Regions from separate parts of the Homo sapiens genome. Here region 1 is linked to region 2. The links are contacts of gene promoters, found by promoter capture Hi-C in blood cells and fetal thymus (Javierre and others, 2016). All regions are on one chromosome and are shown on one strand. Each heading gives the region's core, a stretch centred on a gene start or on the middle of the fragment in contact. The rest is flanking DNA. Distances are from core to core; before and after follow the strand shown. Region 1 holds the start of EIF3M (eukaryotic translation initiation factor 3 subunit M). Region 2 holds the start of TRIM44 (tripartite motif containing 44).

Evidence for each region. The method cuts DNA at HindIII sites, captures the fragments that hold promoters and counts their contacts. A CHiCAGO score of 5 or more calls a contact.
Region 1: a fragment that was not itself captured here is called in contact with the fragment with the promoter of TRIM44 in region 2 in 1 of 17 cell types (non-activated CD4 T cells); the score reaches 5.9 in non-activated CD4 T cells.

The regions. Positions count from the first base shown.
Region 1 is chr11:32,581,639-32,584,627 of GRCh38, forward strand. EIF3M (eukaryotic translation initiation factor 3 subunit M) reads left to right here and starts at 2,193. Exons shown (of 11, transcript NM_006360.6): 1 at 2,193-2,291. The coding sequence starts at 2,250. RefSeq lists enhancers at 1,904-2,556, 2,199-2,348 and a silencer at 1,979-2,038. The HindIII fragment of the contact is 1,283 bases long and covers 625-1,907 here.
Region 2 is chr11:35,661,193-35,664,134 of GRCh38, forward strand. TRIM44 (tripartite motif containing 44) reads left to right here and starts at 1,583. Exons shown (of 5, transcript NM_017583.6): 1 at 1,583-2,588. The coding sequence starts at 1,920. RefSeq lists enhancers at 1,240-1,559, 1,771-2,271 and a silencer at 1,600-1,979. The HindIII fragment of the contact is 12,326 bases long and covers 606-2,942 here.

The sequences.
Region 1 (2,989 bases), core at 16-2,515, 3.1 Mb before region 2:
TGTATTGTTGAGTTTGTATTCCTCGAACTTTGCAATAATAAGGCGAGGGGAGGAGCCCAGGGATTATTCCTTCAGAATCAACTGGTATTTCCTGATGATCTGCTGTGGGCTGGGCACTGAGGTGGGTGCGGAAATGCAGGGTGAACATGACACAGGTTCCCTGCCTTCAGTTTCACTTTCCACATTGTTAAGGCTATTCCATGCAAGAATGAATCCTTTCAAATTTAGTCTAGCCAGATGTTTTGTGTCCTCTATCCCCTCAACCTTGTTTTTTTCCTTTGCTTGGCATTTATTTTATATTGAAGTATAATTGTGGTATCAATAAACTGCACATTTTTGAACTGCACACTTTGAAAAATGTTATATATGTATACAATCATGACACAATCACAGTCAAAATAATGAACACATCCATAACCCCCAAAAACTTCCTCAAGCCCCTCTGTATCCATCTTTCCCCCCGCCTTACCCAATCCCTGCCCCCAGGCAACAGCAATCTATAATGCTGTCATTATAGTTTCTACTTTCTAGAGTTTTATATAAATGGAATCATACAGTATGATGATTAACTGAACAAAATTATTTTGAATTATTTTGGGATTGTCAACTAAAGAAAAAAAATCAAGCTTTTATTTTAAGAGATGGAGTCTCACTCACTTTGTCACCCAGGCTGAAGAGACTGAAAAAAAAAAAAGATTCATCTGTGTTTTTGCATGTATCAATAATTCATCCTTTTTTGTTGCACAGCAGTATTCCATTAAGCAGATGTATAACAATTTTTTGATCCACTTCATTCATCTATTGATGAACATTTGGGTTGTTTCCTTTTTTTTGGCTATTGAAAATAAAGTGTTAACTTTTTGGAAACTGTCTCCTGAAAAAGCTAAACATAAATTTACTAAATAAGCCACTGATTCCTCTCATAGGTACATACCTAAGAGAAATATACGTACACACAAAATCTTGTGCACTAACGTTCATGGAAACATTATTCATAATAGCCAAAAAATGGAGACAACCCAAGTGTCCACCAACTGATGAACAAATCAACACAATGTGGTATATCCATAACAATGCAATATTATAAGCAATAAATAGGAATATAGGAGGGATACATGGACGAACCTTGAAAACATTATGCTAAATGAAGTAAGTCTGACTTAGGCCACCGTGTATTTTGTGATTCCACTTACATGAAATGTCCAGAAAAGGCAAATTCATAGAGACAAAATGTAGTGTTTGCCAGGGGCTGGAGAGAGGTGGGGCCGGGGGTCTGGGGAGTGATTGCTGATGGGTAGTTTCTTTTGTAGGTGATGAAAATGTTCTAAAATTAAATAGTAGTGATGGTTGTGCAACTCTGAAAATACTAAAAACTACTGAATTGTGTATTTATTTTATGAGACGGAGTCTCGCTCTGTCGCCCAGGCTGGAATGCAGTGGCATGATCTGGGCTTACTGCAACCTCCTTCTCCCAGGTTGAAGTGATTCTCCTGCCTCAGCCTCCCGAGTAGCTGGGATTACAGGCGCGCACCACTATGCCCCGGTAATTTTTGTATTTTTAGTAGAGACGGGGTTTTGCCATGTTGCCCAGGCTGGTCTCCAGTTCCTGACCCCAAGTGATCCGCCCACCTCGGCCTCCCACAGTGCTGGGATTACAGGCGTGAGATCCACTGCGCCCAGCCAAAGCTGCTATTTTTTAAAAGCGGCAATGAACATTCTTGTACAAGTCTTTGTACGGACATACAGTTTGGGTAGAAGAATAGCTGGGTCATATGCTGGGTGGATACTGAACTTTTTCAGAAACTGCCGCTCCTCTGCAAAGTGACTGCACCATTTTATGTTCCCAACAGCAGTACAGGAGAGTTTCAGGTCTACACAAACCCATCCATACTTGGTAAGACCCAACAAGCTTAACATTTCAAGGGAAGGTGGACTTAGGGAGGCGCCAGCGGGAGGCAACATCAATGCAGTTAGCTACACGGGCCTGAAAACTGGAGGCCGCGACAAGCGTCGCTGAGTGGAGGCCCAGTAAGTCCCACCCACTAGGCCAGCCCGAGCGCGTCTGCCACGCCCTGCTGCATTCCGCGGCGAGAGCGCGCGATAGGATTGGCTCTCAAGGCCCCGCCCCAACAGGTCGCCGCTCAGGGTGACCCGGAAGCAGTTGCGCCAGCAGCGTCGCGCGGCCCAGTTCCCTTTTCCGGTCGGCGTGGTCTTGCGAGTGGAGTGTCCGCTGTGCCCGGGCCTGCACCATGAGCGTCCCGGCCTTCATCGACATCAGTGAAGAAGATCAGGTGTGCTTCGGTCTACGGGTGCCGCCACGGTGGGGTGGGGGATGTCCTAGTAGCGCAAGGGACCGCTGCCGAGCCTGGGCCGGGCGGCCGGGGCTGACACCCGCAGCTGTTCTACACGCGAGAATGGGGAGGCCGGTGGCTGGGGCGCGCGTTCCTGGCCTCGATTCGCACCAGCTCGCCGGCCGGCGGTCCCAGCGCGGGGCCCGACGCTTCACCGCCAGCTCCCTGGTCGGCGTCGGGACTCATTTCTGACGACATAGTACTTTTAGACTGATGAGGAATGATGTCTGCTTCCGTCCGTCAAATGCAGCCACATTCGGAGTGGGAGGTGGTGAATCTGTAGTTAGCATAAGCAGGGTAGGGAAAAGTAATTTTGTGCTAAAGATCAAAATGCCGGGCCGGGCGCGGTGGCTCACGCCTTTAATCCCAGCACTTTGGGACGCCGAGGCGGGCAGATCACGAGGTCAGGAGATCGAGACCATCCTGGCTAACACGGTGAAACCCTGTCTCTATTAAAAATACAAAAAAATTACCCGGGCGCGGTGGCACGCGCCTGTAGTCCCAGCTACTGCCGAGGCTGAGGCAAGAGAATCGCTTGAACCCGCGAGGCGGAGTTTGCAGTGAGCCAAGATCGCGCCACTGCACTCCAGCCTGGGCGACAGAGCGAGAGTCCCTCTCAAAAAAAAAAAAAAAAAAAA
Region 2 (2,942 bases), core at 333-2,832:
TTGAATTTTTTTTTTCAGAATGGTGCTTCAATTCATGTTTCAAAAGCAGACACAGAAATAATTTCCAGAGAAATGAGCTGGGGGAAAACAGAAATGTGTATGGAATTGGAACAAAATAAACCTGATTTTTTTCAACATTGTATAGAATTGTTCTGAGGTTAAAAAGAAAGGTTTCTAAAAAATAAATATCTAACAAAAGCTGCACAAAGATTAGGCATACATTATCCATGGAGACATTAAAAACTATTAAAAAGGTTTTTTTACCCCACCTCATCCCCTGGTATGTTTGAGGAAAGCATCTGGAAATTCTAACTCAAAATCATCTAAGGGAATCAATGTAAAACAGACACCATTCCATCCCCTTTCATCCTTCTTAATACACCTCAGCCTCTCCCTTGACTAGATAAAAACGTAATTTTCCCTCTCCCAAATACAGTGCAAAACAAAAACTCTTCTGTGAATGGAGAGACATGGATATGGGGTAGAGGTGGAGACTTGCCTACATTACCAGCAGCCAGCCGAAAATGCCCTGTGTGTGTAAAATATGTTCCTTCAAAGGGGCATTGTGAGCACTAAATATAATTTGTGCCAAAAATAATAATGAAAGCTTAGTGAATACTCTACAGTGCAGGCATCGTTACATTTAATCCACAAAACTACCCCATGAGGTAGATATTTACCGTTCTTTTCACTTAACATCTTTTTTAAAAAGCGGAAAACAGAATGATGAATTAACTTGTCCATGGTCATAAAACTGATAGGTAGTGGCACCAGGATTTGGGGACCATCGGGCAGAGGATCTTCCAAAACCGGCTTTTAAAGAGCCACAAAAAGATGTAGCCGGGTTCTTGGCACTACAGTACTGCTTTATAAACAACAGTTCCCTTCTTTTCTCTTAGAGCCCAGTGGGAATCTAGAGGGACACCTTACATAAAGGAAAATGACTGCAACCTGGACCTGTCACTCGACAAATACTGCCTCTCCCCACCTCACTTCACCTGACGTCTCTGCCCAACCGAAGGCAGCTCTCAGAAAACCGCACAGAGGTTACCACCCCAGAAATTCTGAGATCCTAGGAGGTAGCAATGCAAATAGACAAAGCACAGTATTGCTTTGGATCGAAAATATTTGTTTGCTCATCCTAACTCCAATTCCCCTAGCCTAGAACAAACATAGCCCTTCCGCACTCAGGAAATCCCAAGAGGTCAGGTTCAGTCTGGTAAACAACACTGTCCGGGCACCTTGCAGAACACTGGGGACTGTGACGGGCGGCGACAAATTGGCACAAGAGAGACTGAAATGCACAGGGACACCAGCCTAGTGGCCGTGAAAACTCAAGTTGACACTTCCAGGGAGGGAATGGGGGAGGTGGAGCCCAATTCCTGCTTCTGGAGAGAGTAAGAGACTTCCTCCATCCTCCTTCTCCCTCCTCCTCCTCCAAGGCACGCTGAGATTTGGAGCGGAGGAGCTGAGCCCCGCGGGAAAAGCAGAAAAGGGTCATTGCCACTTTAAATGACTCAGGAAGTAAAAGGAGGCCTCCTGACGGGGAAAGGGAAAGTGGAACCGGGGCGGCGCGGGGGCCGGCGGCTGCCGCGATCTCTCCCTGGTAGCGGGAGGCTGAGCGGGCGGCGCGACGCGGGGGCCGACGGGGGCGCCGGGTGGCCGCGCCGGAAGTGCCTTGCGCGGCAGAGGAAGCGCAGGGACAGAGCGGAGCAGGCCGAGCCGGCGGAAAGGGTCTTTGCTGCTGCGCCCGGGCAGGGGCTGCCGCGGCCCCAGGTCCCGCTTCGAGACGCGGCGCGGTCCAGGCGGGAGGCGACTCCCTAGGAAGGGACCCGGGGCGGGAGGAGGAAGTGAGGCCGCGCGGAAGGAAGGCGGCGAGCCCCGGGGCCCCGAGGCCTTGGCCGCGTCACAGCACCCACATGGCCTCTGGAGTGGGCGCGGCCTTCGAGGAACTGCCTCACGACGGCACGTGTGACGAGTGCGAGCCCGACGAGGCTCCGGGGGCCGAGGAAGTGTGCCGAGAATGCGGCTTCTGCTACTGCCGCCGCCATGCCGAGGCGCACAGGCAGAAGTTCCTCAGTCACCATCTGGCCGAATACGTCCACGGCTCCCAGGCCTGGACCCCGCCAGCTGACGGAGAGGGGGCGGGGAAGGAAGAAGCGGAGGTCAAGGTGGAGCAGGAGAGGGAGATAGAAAGCGAGGCAGGGGAAGAGAGTGAGTCGGAGGAAGAGAGCGAGTCAGAGGAAGAGAGCGAGACAGAGGAAGAGAGTGAGGATGAGAGCGATGAGGAGAGTGAAGAAGACAGCGAGGAAGAAATGGAGGATGAGCAAGAAAGCGAGGCCGAAGAAGACAACCAAGAAGAAGGGGAATCCGAGGCGGAGGGAGAAACTGAGGCAGAAAGTGAATTTGACCCAGAAATAGAAATGGAAGCAGAGAGAGTGGCCAAGAGGAAGTGTCCGGACCATGGGCTTGATTTGAGTACCTATTGCCAGGAAGATAGGCAGCTCATCTGTGTCCTGTGTCCAGTCATTGGGGCTCACCAGGGCCACCAACTCTCCACCCTAGACGAAGCCTTTGAAGAATTAAGAGTAAGTATTGGGCCTTCAGAGCATAAACCTAGGGGTCAGGACACCTGGGTTTCAACTCAGGTGGCCTGGCTGTGACCACATTCGCTTTCACTGTGTCCCTAAGAAGCTAGTCTTTCCAACTTTTTGGGAGCAGTTCTTATTCACCGTTTTTGGTTGAACTCTTTTGAGAATCTGATGAAAGTTCTGGACTCTGACCTGAGAAAATACACACAAAATCTAGTATACAATTTCTAGAAAATTGCAAGTTTCTGGTCTGTGGATCCCAGGTAAAGCATTTCTTGGGAGTTTTGACCCCACTTAGGCCAATTTCCACAGCATCACTATTGTTGAAACTGGTGCTTTGTGCTAGGGCTC